Regions from separate parts of the Homo sapiens genome. Here all the other regions are linked to region 1. Evidence: promoter capture Hi-C in human tissues and cell types (Jung and others, 2019). All regions are on one chromosome and are shown on one strand. The core of a region is centred on a gene start or on the middle of the fragment in contact, and the rest is flanking DNA. Distances in the headings are between cores, read along the strand shown. Region 1 holds the start of SNURF (SNRPN upstream open reading frame). Region 2 holds the start of SNORD116-29 (small nucleolar RNA, C/D box 116-29). Region 3 overlaps SNHG14 (small nucleolar RNA host gene 14). Region 4 has its middle 58 kb from the start of SNHG14. Region 5 has its middle 41 kb from the start of SNHG14. Region 6 has its middle 16 kb from the start of SNHG14.

The links. Contacts are between HindIII fragments. The study calls those that stand out against the background at their distance.
Region 2: a fragment that was not itself captured here is called in contact with the fragment with the promoter of SNURF in region 1 in 1 of the 25 tissues and cell types used here (stomach).
Region 3: a contact is called between a fragment that was not itself captured here and the fragment with the promoter of SNURF in region 1, in 2 of the 25 tissues and cell types used here (aorta and spleen).
Region 4: a fragment that was not itself captured here is called in contact with the fragment with the promoter of SNURF in region 1 in 1 of the 25 tissues and cell types used here (dorsolateral prefrontal cortex).
Region 5: a contact is called between a fragment that was not itself captured here and the fragment with the promoter of SNURF in region 1, in 1 of the 25 tissues and cell types used here (lymphoblastoid cells).
Region 6: a fragment that was not itself captured here is called in contact with the fragment with the promoter of SNURF in region 1 in 2 of the 25 tissues and cell types used here (H1 embryonic stem cells and spleen).

What each region holds. Positions count from the first base shown.
Region 1 is chr15:24,952,975-24,956,497 of GRCh38, reverse strand. It overlaps SNURF (SNRPN upstream open reading frame), which reads right to left and starts at 1,511. Exons shown (of 3, transcript NM_001394334.1): 1 at 1,436-1,511. The coding sequence starts at 1,449. SNRPN (small nuclear ribonucleoprotein polypeptide N) reads right to left here and starts at 1,511. Exons shown (of 10, transcript NM_003097.6): 1 at 1,436-1,511. All of the region lies in intron 4 of SNHG14 (small nucleolar RNA host gene 14), which reads right to left. RefSeq lists enhancers at 1-140, 1-530, 531-1,096. The HindIII fragment of the contact is 13,657 bases long and covers 1-3,523 here.
Region 2 is chr15:25,104,461-25,108,003 of GRCh38, reverse strand. It overlaps SNHG14 (small nucleolar RNA host gene 14), which reads right to left. Exons shown (of 148, transcript NR_146177.1): 52 at 1,710-1,840; 53 at 416-532; 54 at 1-94. It overlaps SNORD116-29 (small nucleolar RNA, C/D box 116-29), which reads right to left and starts at 1,484; the gene lies at 1,400-1,484. It overlaps SNORD116-28 (small nucleolar RNA, C/D box 116-28), which reads right to left and starts at 3,363; the gene lies at 3,271-3,363. The HindIII fragment of the contact is 6,332 bases long and covers 1-3,543 here.
Region 3 is chr15:25,154,637-25,158,166 of GRCh38, reverse strand. The region is part of intron 61 of SNHG14 (small nucleolar RNA host gene 14); the gene reads right to left. Among named protein-coding and RNA genes, the nearest start is that of SNORD115-1, 14 kb to the left of the region's middle. The HindIII fragment of the contact is 4,828 bases long and covers 1-3,530 here.
Region 4 is chr15:24,763,443-24,766,794 of GRCh38, reverse strand. No RefSeq gene overlaps it. Among named protein-coding and RNA genes, the nearest start is that of SNHG14, 58 kb to the left of the region's middle. The HindIII fragment of the contact is 3,064 bases long and covers 462-3,352 here.
Region 5 is chr15:24,780,882-24,784,080 of GRCh38, reverse strand. No RefSeq gene overlaps it. Among named protein-coding and RNA genes, the nearest start is that of SNHG14, 41 kb to the left of the region's middle. The HindIII fragment of the contact is 6,461 bases long and covers 1-3,199 here.
Region 6 is chr15:24,805,504-24,808,865 of GRCh38, reverse strand. No RefSeq gene overlaps it. Among named protein-coding and RNA genes, the nearest start is that of SNHG14, 16 kb to the left of the region's middle. The HindIII fragment of the contact is 8,494 bases long and covers 1-3,362 here.

The sequences.
Region 1 (3,523 bases), core at 262-2,761:
CCGCCCACCTTGGCCGGCTTCCTCTCCTTACCACTGCACCCTAAAGAGGGTACGGCTGAAACTCCGAAACAGCAGAAGCTGAACACACACCACCTGCCCCCTCCCCACTGGCGGCTCTACAGGGAGGAAGCGGCCACCCCCCCGCTGAAGCGCTTGCGCAGATCTAAGCCGCTGCAGCGGCGGCCATCTTGAAGGAGCTGCACAATGGCAGTGACGCAACACAGACCCCCAGGTTATTTCGACATAGCCTTCCAAGACCTGGTTCCCAACAGAGAGAAACAATGAAAAAAAAGTAACCCCCAGGCATCACCTGGCCTATCAGTCAAAAGATCTGTAAATGCAAGTTCTGCACATCATTCCAGTCTTCTTATGCCATAGCCTCTAAAGCGAGGGTTCCTAAAGGGTACGCAAGGATTCCACGCATTTCTGCAGCCCCTGCGGCAGTGTAGGCATTGCGCAGTTTTAATAAAAAAGCACCACCACCACAGTAGGCAAACCAGATGACCATCGCAGGTCACAGGAAAATTAAAGGCTGCGGACTGTGCTACTGCCCCTTCTGATGCCCCCTCCTCTACACAGCAATCATTCAGCGTCCCTTAGTCACTCCGGACAGCGACAGGCCCCGCGGCCGCCATGCCCACCGCCTCCATGCCATGCCCACCGCCGCCATGCCTACCGCCGCCAAAGTCCACCACCGCCATGCCTACCCGCTGCCAATGCCCACCGCCGCCAATACCCACTGTCGCCGCCTTCCCCCTACCTCCCAGCCACTTCCTACGGACTCTCCCCGCGCCGCGACCACCAACACAACCCCCACCACTGTCACACCGACTCATCCCCCTGGTCCACTGCCATAGCCTCCTCGCCTCGGTCACTGCGACGAATTCCCCCCCCAGTCGCCCCACGTACCCTGCTCCACCACGCAGTGGTCACTATTATACACCTACCTGCGCTCAACACCCCCTAAATACCGATCACTTCACGTACCTTCGCCCCGCCACAATCACTCCAATATACCTACCTCCGCCTAAAATCCCTATGCACTGGTCCCCCCACGTACCCTCGCCACACGGAACTGCAATCACCCTGATGTACCCACCTCCACCCATGTCCCTTGCCCACTGCGGTTACCCCGCATGCTCCCAGTCACCACCGCCCTTCCCACCGCAGACACCCGCAATAGGACCTGTCGCGACACCACAGTTGGGGGCGGATGGGGGACGCGCCCCAATGCGAGCGGACAGGATACCATCGGGGCAGAACGGCACAACAGCAAGCCTCTGAACATTCCGGATCTGGTTCTCCAGAACAAAGGACTTTAGGGCCCAAATTCCGTTTATTCAGTACTCCAAGTCCTAAAAACTTGGAATATCTGATGAATAAAAGTGGCCGCTCCCCAGGCTGTCTCTTGAGAGAAGCCACCGGCACAGCTGACCTTGCCCGCTCCATCGCGTCACTGACCGCTCCTCAGACAGATGCGTCAGGCATCTCCGGCGGCCGCTCCACTCTGCGCCAGACTCGCTGCAGCAGCGGCAGGCTTCGCACACATCCCCGCCTGAGCATGCGCGCCAGCCTGCCTCTGCGGCCGCGCAGGCGTGCTTGTTTGCCGCAGTGCAGGGGTCCCAGCTCCCTCCCTCACCGGAATGACCTGGGGGGAGGGGGCTACTGGACCCCTAGGGCCCCACAGCACTGTTGCAATGAGAGGGGGCCTCTAGAAACCATAAGCAACCTGGGATCAATGGACATGTCTACCTGTTTTTTAAAATGTGTAAAATACTAAAGAAATAATTCTTGGTTCTACAATAAATTTTTGCACACACCACTGGCCAAACAATCCTAATTTACACTCACCCTCAGGTCTTCCTATGTGCGGTACAAAAAAGCTGGTTTGGAAAAGTTAAATGCGCCATAACCACAATCAATGCAAATACGCCAGACTTGAAATCCTTCCAAAAGAAAATATCCCTAACTCTAAAAGCATGCTACATTGTTCAAATTTGGTGCGATTTTTCTACCCTTTTTCTACTTTCTACATTTTGAGGGGGTAAATTGTGAAAATTATCTCCCCCAAAATCACAATATAATTAAACTCTCCTATACGGAATGGATAGATCATTCAACTCAAAAACACTGGCTATTCAATTTTTGTAAAACAAAAATATGAACTTAGACCCCCACCTAAGATCTAAGTAGGAGAGCCTTTCTTTGCCTATTAGAATTGGATACATTAAAATTTTTACCAATAATCAATGATAGCTGGAGTGGGGAGAAACAGGCACTTTTATATAATACTAATGGACAAGTAAACATTATTTACGACATAATATTCTATCTGCAGAAATAACGGAAGCATCAGTAACTCCAAAATTTAGACGCTGATGTAGCTTGGGAAAAGACACTGCAGAAAAGAAGAAAATAATCCTGAAACTGCATCTGCATAGTTTTTACACACATTTGCCCTTTCTCAATTGCCCATTATCGAAGAAGGGAGGGTGATGTGAGTGGAGGTTGACTAAATGGTTAAATCCCCTCCCAAGCCCTGTAAGCTACTGCTCAGTTCCCAATGATCCTACATTAAAACAGGTGCGCAGAGGCTTATCAATGCTGACTTCTATCGTAACAAAATCTCAGAAACTGTGTAATGTTCCTCACAGAGAACAGATAGGCTAACTAAATAAACGTATATATAAATAATAACATGCAATATGGCTGATGGAAAAAATGATGTATTAGGCTGAATCATATAAAATTGTCAATATTGAATTGTTTTGACCTACAAAAACATTGCAATTTCTAATAGTTCATTGATACATATTCACATAAAATAACATGGGAAGTTGACTCTGATCACGGGAGTCAATCGAAAAATAAAATGTAGGCTGGGCACAGTGGCTTACGCCTGTATTCCCAGCACTTTGGGAGGCCGAGGTGGGCAGATCACGAGGTCAGGAGATCGAGACCATCCTGGCCAACATGGTGAAACCCATCTCTACAAAAAACAGAAAAATTAGCTGGGCGTGATGGCACATGCCTGTAATCTTAGCTACTCGGGAGGCTGAGGCAGGAGAATTGCTTGAACGTGGGAGGCGGAGGTTGCAGTGAGCTGAGATCACACCACTGCACTCCAGCCTGGTGACAGGGCAAGACTCCATCTCAAAAAAATAAATAAAATAAAAGCATACTGTATGTTCAGTTTTACACTGAAAAAATTATGAAAGAATACACACCATTATAGTCCAGTGATGAAAACCATGCCTTTGGACTCAGGCTCTTTTGATTCAAATTCTAGCTTTGACTCTTGACCACAATGTTACTTTGAGCAAGTTATCTAACCCTCTGTGCATTAAATTCCTAATCTGTAACAAAAGAAGGGATTCTGTTTACTTTATACAATGGCTTAACAATTAAATGAGCTAAAATACTATTTAGAACAGGTCCTAGTATAAGCTGGGTAAAAATGTTGGCTCTTAGAACTTCACCAAATGTTAGAGTACTACTTCTTCTAGGAGCAGGAATTGGGTGT
Region 2 (3,543 bases), core at 644-3,143, 150 kb before region 1:
TGATAGAAGTATTCTCAATACTTTTCTCATGTCACATCTCAAGAGGACAGAATAAAATATTTTATATGAAACCCAGTTCTTGGTTCATGCCGATCTGTGAAAACAGTACAAATATGGGAAGATGGTAAGTATATATGTCCATTTGTCAAACATGCACAAGAAGGGAGCGTTTGTTATGTATATTAATATCAAATATACTAACATAACTCTACTAGGATGTTTTTGATATTACTGAAAAGGAGAACGCAAAAAAAATTGGAAATAAAGGATAATGAAAGCCTTGGATGATTCACCAGATAATTAATGTCTCATACTGTTATTAACAGATCATTCACAAAACTGATTATCTACTTGACTACAGAAAAAATTACAAAATAAGCCATAAAAAGTAAATTTATTCAAACTTGGATGTTACCTTTGGAGTGCGTCCTTTTGTTCTGCCCCCAGGGAATGAAACAGGTAAGAGTGACAAGATCAGCATTTCTTTGGGATGGCAGTGAGAATTCCATGCAATTCCAAAATCACTTCCGTTCTGCAAGGCACAGGGGACATTACAGGAGTTTTGAAACAAAACCTTCCCAACTGAATGATTCCTGACAACAGTTTGTAATTAATTAGCCATAGTCACTTGACTATCCACATAACTAAAAAATCTGCTTGTTGCTTGGAACAGGGTAAGTACAGAAAATCAATGTTTCCAAGATTTTGGTCTCGAAGGCCAAAGGCCCCGAGTATTACTAAAATTAGAATCTCTCTTAAAATATACAAAGACTCAATGAAGGAATATTCCTATTAGCCAACAATATCCATCTAAAATCCCTAGAATTAGAAATTTCATTATTTCACATTAAAATGTTTAATGAAGCATCTAATTTAATCTATCATCTAATGCTTAGAAAATTGCTCCCTGAGTGACAGGAAAAAGAAAAACAAATGCTGTTCTAATCCTTGAGACTGAGTTAGGAAGCAAATTCCAGCATGTAATAAGATAATCCCATGAATACAACCCACTCTTCAATTTTCACATATTTCTTTTAGTGAAAGAATAAATAGCAAGCAAAGACTGATAATTTCTTTCTAATTGACTACATAATATACCTATACATGCTGATACTCACTAAGAATGTTGTGGCGTCTACGAAAATAGTGTGAATGACTCGAGTGCTGGCACAGCCATTTCTACAGTGTTCACTCCTCTGACGCTGGTACCCCAAAGCCTGATTACTAGGTGTTTGAAGGCTGTCAGCCATGCACTTAAATCATTGTCATGTAATTCCCGAAGATATATAGGCCTCTGTACAATTCATCTGCTCTAACATATGCAAGTGGGTTCGTTTTGGTACCAGTTCCTGACCAAACTGAACGCCCTCCACGGGTTTGCCTGGTATGGTCCCTGTGCTGGACCTCAGCTCACAGAAGTGTCTTGGTCACTCATTTTGTTCAGATTTCCAAGGTTTCCATTTTTTTAAGTCATCATCGATCCAGGCACACTTATAAAAGGGACCTTAAGCCTGAGATATGTGGCAGACACTGAACACTGATCTTTCTGTCACCTGGGGACTTGCCAACCCACAGTATTCAATTACAAAGACCAGCATCACAGCCAGTGACCAGTCTCATGACTGACAAGCACAGCCAGGGTCTCATTGTCATTGGAGTGTCATGACCCCCTAAGAAGAATGTTGGTGCTTTCAAGACAAAATGCTTACCAATATTTGAATTCCCCCTGGCCCTTGAGAATGGGAGGGCAGAATTATTTCCATTACTTTCCTTCATGTCACACCTCAAGTAGAAGGAATAAACTCTTTTATATGAAATCTAGTTTTTGGTCCACATTAACCTTTGAAAATAGGAAAAAATTATAGAAAAATAAAAAGTGCAAATGTAATTTGCCAACCATGCAAATAGTGTACATATACAACAGGCTTACTATGCACAAGTATATAAAATATACTAAATTATTTTGCTAGTAGGGTATCCTAATGTTATTTGAAAACAGAGGAAGTATAAAAATACTGTACAAAGAACACAGAAACTTCAGATGACTAACCAGATTATTAGGGCCTCACACCATTTGGATTAACAGACTGCTTGAAAAACCAATTATAATCTTACTTGCTAAAATAAAATAATAGAACGAACCCAGGAAAAATGCACTTACTAAAAATTGCAATATTACCTCTGAAGTGTATTGTTCTCATTGCCAGACAACGAATCTGGTACACGTGACAAAATCAGCAGGTTACTGGAGCAGCAGTAGGAATTCCATGCAATTCCAGTATTACCTCCAATACACAAAGCACACTGAGGAAGTAGGAAGTCGACAAATGAAACCCTCATAATTAAAAGAGTTTCATTTGTCAACTTTCTTACTTTCATAATTACTAATGACGAGTTATAAGAAATAAACCATAGATATTCACTTGCCCATGTGGTATGAGAATAAAAATTATGCTCACTCCCTGGAAATGGGTAGTACTGAAAGTCAGTTTTCTAAGACCAAAAGGCCTCCCTTAGTATCACACAATAAAACTAGGATCTCCCTTTAAACATCTATGAAACCCACTAATAAAAATAATGAATATCAGGCAATGAAATCCACATAAAACTCTATGAATTGCAAATTTAATCATTTTACAATTAGAAATGTTTACTATAGCATCTACTAGAATCCCTTAATCAAATGTCTAAAAAGCTTCTCTTTGAGTGACAGGCAAAACTTAAATTCCAACTTCTGTGACAAGATCAATAAGGAAATTAAAATGTTAAGACTTTCCACAAATAGAAAGTACCCTTCAATTTCCATACATTCTTTTCTTTAATAGATAAAAGCTACTCTTCAATTTCCATATATTTCTTTTACTTAATAGATAAATAATATGTAAAACCTCATAATACCTTTTACACTGTCCATCTAATGAACCTGAGAGACTGACCTCACACACAAGATTATAGCACCTAAAAACATGTATAAAAGACTCTAGGGTAGGCAAAACCATTTCCTACTGTTCCCTCTACTCTTGTGTAATTCTGTTTACTATGAGAGTATGGACACTGCCAGCCAAACACTGAAAGAAATGCCATATAATCCCCAAAGATATATGTACACAAACATATATAAATATATACAAACACATACAGACCTCTGTACAATTCATGTGCTGTAAGCTATGTGAGTGGGTTTGTTTTCCAATACCACAGGCCATTTTGGTACCAGTTGCTGACCAAACTGAACTCTCTGCACGTGTTTGCCTGGCATGGTCCCTGTGCTTGACCTCAGTTCACAGAACTGCACAGAAGTGGTTTGCTCACTCGTTTTGCTCAGATTCCAACGAGATTCATTTTTAAGTCGTCATCCATCCAGGCACATTTATAAAAGGGACTTTGAACCTGAGATATGTGGCAGACACTGAGCACATAGCTATCTGTCACCAATGACCCACACTATTCAATCATGGAGACCAGCAGCACAATGACCAGCCCATGGCTGCCTGGCATAGCCAGAGTCTCACTGTCATTGGAGTGTCCTGATTCCCTAAGAAA
Region 3 (3,530 bases), core at 517-3,016, 200 kb before region 1:
GATGATCTTATCATCTATGTGGATCACACATGGAGAAGAATCAGTCACAATACTATCCACGTTCCTTGAGAGAATATGTGCATATTTTAAGGTTTACTTATCCTTCAACTCCTCCTGGGCACTTTGTTTTCAATTTTTGCTATTAGATATGGCACCATGATAAGCATTCATGTATACATATTTTGGGTCAATCATGCATGAATTTTTGTTAACCATATACCTGAGAGTATGTTGCCTCCATTCAACTTCAGTGAATACTAAGAGAATTCTAAAAAACACACACTTTCAAATTTTAAACAGATGATCCTTGATTTATGAAGGAGTTACCTCCTAATAAACCTACTATAAGTTAAAAACACTGTAAATAAAAAATGCTTTTAGTACACCTAATGTACTGAACATCATAGCTTTGCCTAGCCTACCTTAAATGTGCTCAGAACACTTACATTAGCCTACAGTGGGTCAAAATGGTGGCAGCACAGTACGCGATGAAGTATTGGTTGTTTACCTTCATAACTGCATGACTGCTAGGAGCTATGGCTCACTGCTGCTGCCTAGCCTCACTAGAGTATCATACTGCCAGTGGCTAGCCCGGGAAATGAAAATTCAAAATCCAAGGTATGGTTTCTACTGAATGCATACCACTTTCACAACATCATAAAGTGGAAAAATCATAAATCAAACCATTATAAATTGGGGACTGTCTAGATATACTGGAAGATGTTTATCTGATTGTTGTCTGAATTATTTTTCTCATGGCTAATGACCTTGAATACCTTTTCATAGGCTTATTGGCCATTCAGATATCCTCTTTTGTGAAGTACCCATTTAAGTGTTTTCTAACTTTTTGACATGTACAAGTTGTATCTTTTATACGATGCTTCTTCACTGATTATATACTTTGAGAAATAAAAATTTTAATTTGGATGCAGACTAATTCATCAATATTTTCCTTTATGCTTAGTGTTATTGGTATTTTTCACTTTCTGCCAAATTATGATGACACCCTCCTATGTTATGCTATGCTCAAGAAGCTTTACTGTTTTGCCTTTCATGAATAGACCAACATTACACCTAGAAATGATGGATCTGTATGGTTTGAAAAGGAATTCACTTTTTTATGTATTGATATCCAGCACTAACTATTGAACAAACCATTCTTTCCTCATCATGCAGGAGTGGCACTTTTATCATAAAGCAAGTAATCATATATCTATTGATCTGCTTGTGGAGTGGAGTCTCTATTTTGCTCCATTAGGCTAGTTTTCTGTCTTTTGTCAGTAACTGTAACCTTGCAATAGTAGGCCTTAAATTTTGGCCATGTAACTCATGCAAAATTGTCATCTTCATCAAGACTATCTTGGCTCTTCTTGACTTTTTGTGTCATATATAATTCTTGAAATTAGATTGAACATTTAATAAATGGCATTCAGATTTAGAATGCTCTTACGTTGGGATCTTTAAGTGAATTTGGGGGAGAATTAACATGTATAGTATATGTAATTGAATTTGCCACTGTGAATATATTATATCCCTCCATTTGTAAGGTATTACTTGCTTCCTTTCCATAATGTTTCATAATATTTTGTGTGAATTTTTTCCTATGGAATTGATGTTTCTGATGTTCCCAAAAATGTTATCTTTTAAAAACTTCATTTTTCATTTGTCATTTTACATAGAAATACATTTTAGTTATCTGCTTTTTAACCCAGCAATCTTGCTCAATTAACTTCCTAATTTTAATTGATCATGTTCAGACTTGTTTCTTGTCAGTAAATAATGAAACTTATACCTTTCCATTTCCAATCCTTATTCTATGACTCTACTCCCCTAGTTAGGACATCCAGTATAGTAATGAATAGAAATGATGAAAAAAAATCCTCTTTTATTCCCAATCTCATAAAAAAGCTTTCTCTATCTCCACTGTCAATAATTTTACAATTAATTTATTTTGTAAATACCCTTTATCTCATTAAATTTTTTTCAATTTTTAGTTCCCATAAATTCGTAGTTCCAATAAAGAGATTTATAAAGAATAGTTTTTATATTTTATCAAATGCTTTTTCTCTTTTGAGATGATCATATAACTTTTCTTCTCTCTTATGTTACCATAGTGATTTACATTGAGTGATTTTGAATTCATTTTTGAAGTAAACATTTGAAGATTTTTTAAAAAGTGAAGCTGAAACAGAGTTCCCAAATACCCTATACCCAGTTTCCCCTCCTGTTAACATCTTGTATTAATATGGCACATTTGTCACACTCAACGAACCAATATTGATAGATTATTATTAACTAAAGCCCACTTTATTCAGATTTCCATAGTTTTACATAATGTACTATTACTCTTCTAGGATCCCATATAGGATGCCATATTCCATTTAGTTGTCTTGTCTATTTAGGCTCTTCTTGACTGTCACACTTTCTCAAGCTTTCCTTTTTGAGGACCTTCACAGTTTTGAGCAAAACTAGTCAAGTATTTTGTAGAGTATATCTCATGTGGGATTTGTTTGATGATTTTTCTCATAATGATACTGATCTTATGGGTTTTTGGGAGGAAGACTGTAGAGGTAAAGTGCAATTTTTATCACGTCATATCAAAGGTATATACTATCAGCATGATTTATCACTACTGATGTTAACCTTGATTACCATGTAGAGATAGTGCTTGTCAGGTTTCTCCCCTGCACAGTTACTCTTCCCTTCCATCCCCCATTTCCACCCTGTACTCTTTGAAAGAAAGTCACCAATGTGCCTAATGACTTTCTTCCCACACTTGACGAGTAAGGAGTTCAACCTCCTTAAGGGCAAAAGTATCTATAAAAACTATATGAAATTATTCTGCACAAAAAATCTATGTTCTCCCCAGTTTATTTATTCATTTGATTATTTACATCAATATGGATTCATGGATATTTTATACTTTGGGTTGTAATCTAATATTATGCTATTTATTTTTAAAAATTTGTTCCAGATTTGACCACTGGAAGCTCTTTTGGTTGGTTCCTGAGTCCCTTTGATATACTTTCATCAATGTGGGGTTCTTGTTTTAGTACTTCCTTACTCTCTGGCACTATATGATGCTCCAGGCTCATCTTGTACATTTCCTAACCAGTCTTAGAATCAGCCATTTCTACAAGGATCCCTGATTTGTTCTATTGGAGAATGGTATTAGAAACTAAGGGCTGGGTTCTAGGTGTGCCCATTGTTACTAGAGTGTCATTGCTTCTAAGCATTCTCAGTTGACACAGGGTGTGTACAATAACTATGTAAATACATGCATCTATATTTCTATGTGTAACCATCTGTCTGCATATTAAACTAAACATAAGTTTACACTGACGTTTCCAACTCTAATCCATTACAACACAAATCATTCTTTTCTTCTTGTCTGTAACTTTTCATTCCAACAATAAGAAAATGTACACCATCTGCCAACCATTTACTTAATTGTTCAATTCCAATATACATATGTATCATGATTTAGAATTGCTAACTCATACACCTACAGAAAACAACTTTATCAAATA
Region 4 (3,352 bases), core at 744-3,243, 190 kb after region 1:
TTCAGACTGTTGTGTGATTAATTCCCAAATTACTTTCATCTTGCAAAATTGACACTCTATACTCACTAAAGAGTAACTCCCCATTCCTCCCTCCTGTGCTCTTGGCAACCACCATATTACTTTCTGTCTCTATGAATTTGACTACCCTAGGTAGTTTGTATAAGTGGAATCATACAGAATTTGTCTTTTTGTGACTGGTTTAATTCACTTACCATAATATCCTCGAGGTTTATTCATTGAGCATTATCTATCAGAATGTCCTTCCTTGTATGCCTGAATAGTAGTCCATTGTATGTAGACAGGTTAAGTATCCCTAATCCAAAAAAGCAAAATTTGAAATGCTCAAAAATTTGATACTTTTTGAGTGCCAGCATGATGCTCTAAGAAAATGCCCATTGGAGCATTTTGAATTTTGGATATTTAGGGATTAGGGATGTTCATCCTCTACATGTGATGCAAATATTCCAAAATCCAAAATCTAAAATATTCCTAGTCCCAGGCATTTTGGATACAGGATACTTAACCTGTACCACATTTTGTTCATCTATTCATCTGTCAGTGGATACATGAATTGCTTCCATGTTTTGGCTAATGTGAATAATGCTGCTATAAACATGAGTGCACAAATATCTCTTCAAGACTCTGCTTTCAATTCTTTCAGGTACATGCCCAGAAATTAAATTTCTGGATTATATGGTAATACAATTTTTAACTTGTTGAGGAACTACCAAATGGCTTTCTCTAGAGGGTATACCATTTTGTCTCCCCACCAACAGTGTACAGGGATTCCAATTTCTCCACATCCTCACCAACATTTTTTGTTTTCTGGATTTCACAGTTTTTTTTTGTATAGTAATCATCCAAATTGGTTTGAGGTGATATCTCATTGTGCATTTGATTTGCATTTCCCTGATAACCATGATATTCAGCATCCTTCCATGTGCTTATTGGCCATGTATGTATCTTCTTTGGAGAAATGTCTATTCAAGTCCTTTACCCATTTTTTAAAATCAGTTTTTTTAATGTTGAGTTGTAGTCGTTTACATGTTCTGAATATGAACTCCTTATCAGATATAGGATTTGCAAATATTTTCTCCCATTCTGTATACTGCCTTTTTAGTGTATGGATTGTGTTCTCTGATACACAGAAGGTTTTAATTTTGATACATTTCAATTTATAAATTTTTACTTTTGTTTCCTATGCTTTTGGTGGCATATCCAGTAAATCACTGCTAAGTCTGATAGTAATAAACTTTTCACCTATGTTTTCTTCAAAGAGTTTTAGACTTTTAGCTCTTATATTTAGGTTTCGATCCATTTTGAATTTTTAAAATATACAGTATAAGGTAAGGCTCCAAATTCATTCTTTTGTGTGGGGATACCCAATTTTCCCTACATCATTTGTTGAAAAAACGATCTTTCCTCAGTTGAATGGCCTTGACATCTTTACAAAAAATCCTTTGACTACATATGTGAAGGCTTATTTCTGGGCTCTCTGTTCTATTAGTCTATATATCTGTCTTTATGCCAGCACCTCACCGTTTTGATTTCTGTAGCTTTGTAATAAGTTTTGAAATCAAGAAGTATGAGACCTTCAATATTGTTCTTTTTAAAGATTACTTTGAGTATTCAGAGTCCATTGAGATTCTGTATGAATTTTGGGATCCAATATAATCTTTGATAGTGACAGAGTTTCACTTCTTGGTCAAACTCTAGCTAGGCTCTTCTGAGCCCTCTTCTGGACTAGACTTTAACTGTGACCTACAAATAAGAACTGCAGACTCCCCGTATAAATTATTTCATTCAACCCCTCTCCTACCACATTAAAAGACTTAGCCAAACACTAAAACAGTTTCTACTAGCGCAAGGTCGTTAACCGCAGTATGAGTCAAGGCTGCCAAAAAAATTTACTTTTTGTTCCAGCCAACACCTGAGAATAGGCCCCTGGCCACACTTTCTTAGAACAATTATTAAAAAGCTTACCATTTTGAATCCTTCCTCTGTCCCTTTGAGATACATATGTTTCCCTTTCAACTCAAGAGAGCCTTTCTCAAAGACCTGAAAGTCATTGCTTTGAAATGTTATCACTGGGAAGGATAGGGCTTCTGTCTCCTATTCTCTGTGGAAAGATAGAATCCTAACCTCAATAACTGCCAGCTAGCAGACACAGCTGGCCTAAGCACAGTTACGCTTAACCAGCCTTTGTGGTTTTTCACTTTCCTGACTCTGTAACCACCTGAAGGGTTCTTGTTGCCCGGTGAATAAAGACGGACCAAGGCATTATAGTAGAGAAAGAGTTTAATAGACACAGGGCTGGCCACACCACATGGGAGATAGGGTTTATACCCAAATCATCTCACCTGAATTGCATAGATTAGGGTTTTTTAAAAGCAATTTGGGGGAAGAGGTGGGGGTGGTCAGGTAACATGTGCTTGCTGCTGATTAGTTGGGGTGGAGATGAAATCATAGTGGGGGTCGAGGCTGTTCTCCTGAGGGCCAAATCGCTTCTGGTGGGGCCTTAGGCGTGGGTGGGACTGGCAGTCCAGGTGGAACCGTCAGGTTTAGGTGGAGCCATAGGTGTCAGACTTGTAAAAAACCTGGAAAGATATCTCAAAAGGCCAATCTACAATAGTGGTGTTATTTGCAGGAGTAATTGGGGAAGTTGCATGTCTTATAACCTACGGATAATGTCTGCACCTTAGCAGGACCCAGGCGCCTCTCCTCCCCACATCCTGATAAGCCTCCCATTAGCTTTACAAAAGCAGTTGAGTTTTAGGGAAGGCCTATTATCTTTTACACTGTAGCCTAAATTTCTTACAAAGTTAGCTCAGCCCAACAGCCCAGAAATAATTAAGGGAAAGGCAAGAAAGGGGGTGGGTTAGTTTAGTTTACTGTTACATTTTTTCTCACTGACATAATATTTGCAAAGGCAGTTTCAACTCTAGTAAGGCCCTGCTCATCCCTCTCCCCTACCCCACTCCCTCATTCTTCCTTTAAAAAGCCCACTTTCCATTGTGCAATTCAAAGTTGAGTTCAGTTTACTCTGGATCCTCCCCGCTATTACAATAGTCATTACGAATTAAAATCTGTCCTTATCACTTTAGTGTCTGGTTTTGTTTTCTTTAACAATACCACAGAACCTAAGTGTCCATCAATAGATGAATGGAAAAAGAAAATGTGGTACATATACACAATGGACTACTATTCAGCTATAAAAAATAATGAGATCCCATTATTTGCAACAGCATGGATGGAGCTAAAGATAGTTATGTTAAGTGGAATAAGCCAGGCACAGAAAGGCAAACTTCCTATGTTCTTATTTGTAGAAGCTAAAAACAAAACAACTGAACTC
Region 5 (3,199 bases), core at 573-3,072, 170 kb after region 1:
TTGTCATTGGTATCTCTCAATCTTTCCTTCTAATGTCCTGAATCCCTGCCTTCCAAAAAGGCTTTAGTGGGATCTTGTAGATAAACTATCTGACAACTTCTTAAAATGGGGTTTTCTGTGATATGTGAGACACAGGAAGCTTTCTTTGAAGAAGTGATTACTGACACTCAGGAAAGTGGTGACTATGTAATGGGAAGCCAGTGGGAAAAAAGAAAGAGGAGAAAAGTTCCTGGAGCTTGATGGTGTCTTTCTGAAGCAGATGCACCTGAATTTAGAATTGTGAATAGATAAGGAAGATGCTTTCCTATTCTCTCCCTATGTATATGACCATCATCCAATGAATCATCATTACCTGATGGAGGTTATTTGTTTATGTCTGTGTAGTTTTTTTTTGGTACCAAAACAACACTTTTAAAATAAGATTTTAATTGTGAAATGCTTAAAAAATATACAAGACTCAAACTACTTTGTTGGGAACAGACCCCCAAATCTGGCCATAAACTGGCCCCAAAACTGGCCATAAACAAAATCTCTGCAGCACTGTGACATGTTTGTGATGGCCATGATGCCCACGCTGAAGGTTGTGGGTTTACCGGGATGAGGGCAAGGAACACCTGGTCCACCCAGGGCGGAAAACCGCTTAAAGGCATTCCTAAATCACAAACAATGGCATGAGTGATCTGTGCCTTAAGGACATGTTCCTGCTGCAGATAACTAGCCAGACCCATCCCTTCCTTTTGGCCCATCCCTTTGTTTCCCATGGGGGAATACTTTTAGTAAATCTATAATCTATAGAAACAATGCTTATCACTGGCTTGCTGTCAATAAATATGTGGGTAAGTCTCTGTTCGGGGCTCTCAGCTCTGAAGGCTGTGAGACCCCTGATTTCCCACTCCACACCCTACATTTCTGTGTGTGTGTCTTTAATTCCTCTAGTGCCACAGGATTATGGTCTCCACGACCGAGCTGGTCTCAGCACTACTTAATTACAAGAGTATAAGTAACAACATAAAAAATGGGCAAAGGACTTCAAAATAAGACATACAACTGTCCAACAGACATATGAAAAAATTCTTCAACATTTGTAATCATCAGAGAAGTGTAAATTAAAATCATAATGAGATATTGGCTCACACCTGCTACTTTGGCTATTGTCAGGATGATGAAATATAACAAATGTTGGTGAGGAAATGAAAAAAGACAAACTTTGTACATTGTAGGTGGGAATGTCAATTAGTACAGATATTTTAGAAAATACTATGGAAGTGTCACAAGAAATTAAAAATAGAATTACTATATGATATAGCAATCTCTCTCCAGGGTATATGCCAAAAAAATTGGAATCACTATGTTGAAGAGATGTCTTTACTCTCATGTTCATTTCAGCATTATTTACATTAGCCAAGATTTGGAAACAATTTAAGAGCTCATTAATGGATAAATGGATTAACAAAAATGTGGTACATATACACAATGTGATACCATTCAGCCTTAAAAATATAGGAAATTCTGTCATTTGCAACAACTTGGATGAACCTACAGTACATTATGCTAGGTAAAATAGGCTAGACACAGAGGGACGATTACCATATGATCTCAATTATATGTGGAATCTTAGAAGTCAAACTCATAGAAGTGGAGAATCATATGGTGGTTACCACAGGTTGTTATGAAGGGGTGGTTGGGGAAGGAGAGACATTGGTCAAAGGGTTTGAAGTTTCTATTAGACAGGAGGAATAATGTCTGGTGATTTATTTCACAGCATGGTGAATATAGATAATAAGAATGTGTTGTATATTTCCCAAAACAGCTAAAAGAGATGATTTTAAATGTTCTCACCACAAAGAAATAATAAATATTTGAGGTAATGGATATGATGATTAGCCTAATTTGACCATTCCACAATGTATACATATAACAAAACACCACAATTAACCCCATGAGTAAGAGTACATACACTTATTATCTGACAATTAAAAATAACAATTAATTTTAGATTACTGAAAGGTATAAGGAGAATATAAAGAGTTTTGTATACCATTCAGCTTCTTGCAATCTTAACATCTTAAATAGCCATAACATATTTGTGAAAACAAATAAAATTGAATGTGGTAAAAACCATTAACTGAAATACAGACTGTCTTTATACTTTACCCGATTTTACATTAATGTCACTTTTTCTGTCAATGATTCATTCCAGATGCCACAGTACATTAACTGTCAGGTTTATTACTTATTTATTGCTGTATAACTCATTTATACAGCAAAGTGCCTCAAAACCACACACACACATATTACTCACTGTTTCTTTAGGGCATGAATCCTGGTGTAGATGATGTCTAGGCTGAAGTCTCAGCTGAAGGTTCAGCTGGGGAGGAATCATCTTCCAAGCTCACAGATTGTTGTTAGGATTCAATTACATGCCCAGGGTGAGATTACTTCACTAGTAAATTATACCAAAACTTTAAAGAATTTATAACAATCCTTCACTAACTCCTCTCCCAAGAGAAGAAGAAAACAAACAAAGGAACGAAAACCAAAAAGGAAAAAGAGAGCACTTCCCAATGCATTTTATGAAGTCAGTTAACCTGATACTACAACTGGAAAAAGACATTGTAAGAAAGGAAAATTAGAGACCAACATGCCTTATAAATACGAGAATCCTCAAGGAAAAACTATCAAAACACAAAAGCACCGTAGACAAAGGATATACACTATGACCAAGGGTATTTATTCCAGCATTGCAAGTTTGGATAAACATACAAAAACAATTAGTAAAATATACTATCTAAATAGTATAAAGAGTAAAAACACATGATCACTTAAGATGAAGAATAAGCATTTGACTAATTAAAACCCCATTTATGATTGGAGCATTTATGAAAACATTGAGCAAATGAAGCATAGAAGGGAACTTTGCCTATAAAGAGCATCAATTAAAAATTCACATAGAAACATACAATGTCATGGAAGCCTCAGTAATTTCTCCAGGATTAGAAATAAGACACTGAGGTCCACTCTTGCCACTTCTATTCAACAGAGTATTGGAGGATGTAGCCAGGACAATTAGGCTACAAAAAATGTAAGACATTCACAATAGAAAGGAAGAAGTTAAACCATCTTTGTTTGCAAATGACATAATCCTGTGTATAGAAAATCCTAAGGAATTCAGTAAAGTAAGATTAGAATCTAAAAACAA
Region 6 (3,362 bases), core at 765-3,264, 150 kb after region 1:
GCTTATCTCTCAGAGGCAGAAGTTTCTCCTGGCGCGTCTAGTCAGCCATCTTGAATTCAACTACAGAATTTTTTTACTTGCATAGCAAATAGATGCTACTGAGTCTGAGATCTACCTTGTGGGAATGGTCCTTTCACTAGTGAATGTTTTCCTTTCACTAGTGAAAGGAATTTGCTGTCATTAGTGCCCTCCATGTTGTAAACTTTAAATTAAGGAAACCTATTCTTAATTGTTAGAGTCCTGAACTGTTTCTGTCCTCTTCTTACTTTTGTGTTTCTTATTGGTTACCGGTGGGAAAATTCCTACTTAATGCATGTCAAGGAATCCCATCTTCACTATCCAGGACACTCAGCAAATCTATTCACATACAAATTATATCAGAAGAGTGTCAAAAGTTTAGCCTAAAATAATAAACATCAGACCAGTTAAATAATCGAAGGATGGGAAAATTATTGACTGAGCCAATGCAAACAAAAATCTAAAAAACTCATAAGCATGAAAACCTTTAAAAATATTTTGCTAGGAGATGACCAAAAAAAAAAAATAAGTAAAGATGGCAATTCCCTTTCTACAAGAATTTGTGCTTCCTGGAGATGTATTTACAGATTTCTTGAGTTACATTTATTATTTTACTGAAAACTGTAAACAGTTTTAGTAGTAACTCACTGAATTGCAAGAAAACTATAGATATTTATATTATGGTCCATGTGTACAAGGAAATTACATGCATACATTTACAACAAGTTAGAAGGAATCAAAGACTTCAGCCATGTCTATAGCTTTTGGATAAAGAGTAACAGTATGATATTTATGCTTGCTCAGTGACAAAATGGCTATTCTTTGCATTCAGAATTGAAGATTCAGTATTCTGCCTGTATAAACTAATGCCTTGTGCATCTTCCACAATTATAACAAACTAAGCCATATAATGAAAACAATCATACCTCCTTTTTCAGCATTTAATTCTGAACAAATTTTGTCCTGTGGCTGTGAAAAAAGTCTCTGTTCTCCTTTTCAACCAGAGGTACTTCAGTGGAAATTCCTGGAAAACACGGAAAAAGGGTGTGTAGCATCTGCTTTTCCCAATAAAAGTCATATTCCTATTCTATTTAGGAAAATTTTATGACTGAAAAGATGAAAATAATTGAAAAGGTTTTATGAAAAATGGGTATAAGTGCATTATTAAATACAATAATGAAATTAATACACAAGACAAAAATATGAATTTGGTTGCAGAAATTGTTATGTGACCAAAACAAATAAAAATTAATACAAAGTGTTGAAAACTGTGTGCCAAAGCAAAAGCAAGAACAAACATTATCAGACAAGGTCTGAAGGGTAATTATCCTTGGTCAGCAAGCTCAGTCATTGTTGAACAAACTCATTCTTTATTAAAAACAGAATGAATACCCAAACAGATCACTTAGGGAGTGTTGGGAGCAGCTGGTTTTGCCCATGCAGGCCTCACAGAGAGCCCTCAGCTCAGCTTTGCCTGCCACAGCCAGGACTTTGATGGGTCATGGTCCAGAGGAGTAAGACCAAGTCCACTGAGGCTCATCCACATGAGCGGGATGCACCCAGGGATGACTCTCCAAGCTCCTGCCAATGTTTCTAAGGATAGAGAAAGCCCAGAGTGGTGGAAGAGAAGGCACAAAATCACATAAAATTCACTGATTTGTTACTGAAAAATAAAGTGGTAGTGAAGTTGGTTGGGGTTGTCTGAGAGTCACAAAGACGTTAGAGACATTAGTGTCAACAGTCATGTTCTGAAGTCTTAAACTCTATTGAAACAAAACAAAACAAAACAAAGTACACCTGGTATTTTTGGTTGGGGTGCAAGGAATGCAGGATCCTACTCTTTCATTTCTTCATTCTAGAACAGCACAGTGATGAAGAGAATGGACTCTGGAGGGAAAATTCTTGTGTAAAATGAAGTCTCTCAGTAACTGAGTTACTTTAGTATTCGCAGAAAAATACAGAAATAAACAAATGAAAAAAGAAAGCTCAAAAAAGGACAAAAGAATATGTAAGAAAAATAGTGTAAAGAAAGATAAATAGGGAATATTGATTTTTCAATATATGTTCCAAAAAATTAAATATCCGTAGGAGAAAATAAAATAGACATTTGATCTCACATTTCAAAATTAATCAATTCCAGATGGATCACTGACCTAGATATATATATATTTTGTGACAGAGCCTCGCTCTGTCACCCAAGCTGGCATGCAGTGGTACAATCTCAGCTCACTGCAACCTCTGCCTCCCAGGATCAAATGATTCTCCTGCCTCAGCCTCCTGAGTATCTGGAATTACAGGTGCACGCCACCATGCCTAATTTTTTTATTTTTAGTAGAGATGGGTTTCACCATGTTGGTCAGGCTGGTCTCGAACTCCTGACCTTATGATCTGCCTACCTTGGCCTCCCAAAGTGCTGGGATTATAGGCGTGAGCCAACGTGCCTGGCCGGACCTAGATATTTTTTTAAAAAAAATTAGTACGGTATTTAGGACCTAATTTAGGAGAATAGCTTCATGACCATGGGGTATATAAGATTTCTGAAACTAGATCTAGAAGGTTCTTATCACAAAATATATCGTAACATAGCTAATGTGAGCAAGGACTCTGGAGACAGACCCAGTCAAGCTCCAGCATCTCCTATTTTTTACTGAAGTGCTTTAGCTAAGATTCAGAACTGGAGCATGGAAGTGATAATATTGCCTACCTCTTGGGATGTTGTGAGGTTTAAAGGAACTAGTAATACATAGAGCACATAGACTAATGCAGGTCTATACTAACAACTAAATTAGAATTTGCTAATACTGACAGCTTTTCCTAAGTAATTACAAGATGCATCATTGGTAAAATGCACCATTATTTTTTTGCCACAAAAAATAAAACCACTGAAAAACTGTGACACAAATATTTATTATCACTTAGAATTTTTATATTATTATTGATTACAATTTTATTGAACTTAAATAAATGTGGAAAAGGGAATCCCTGTGGGTGGGAATGCAAATTAGTACAGCCATTGTGGAAAAAAAAATGAAGGTTTCAAAAAACTAAAAATAGAACTACCATATTATCCAGCTATTCCACTTCTGGGAATATATACACAGGAAGTGAATTCAACATGTTATTTATCTTATATCACTCCTATGAGTACATGAGATGAAAAATTAAAACAGGATACATTAACAGAGATAATCCTAAAATAGCTCTCATGAGATCAAACTCTTCTGAATCACTTCTCAACTCACCGTTTTCATGACTTTCCTCAAATTATCATCACCTGTGCTTATCATAAGCTTTGGCTTTGCCTCATATCTTTAGAGAGTTCTGTATTATCCTCTGTGAGATTA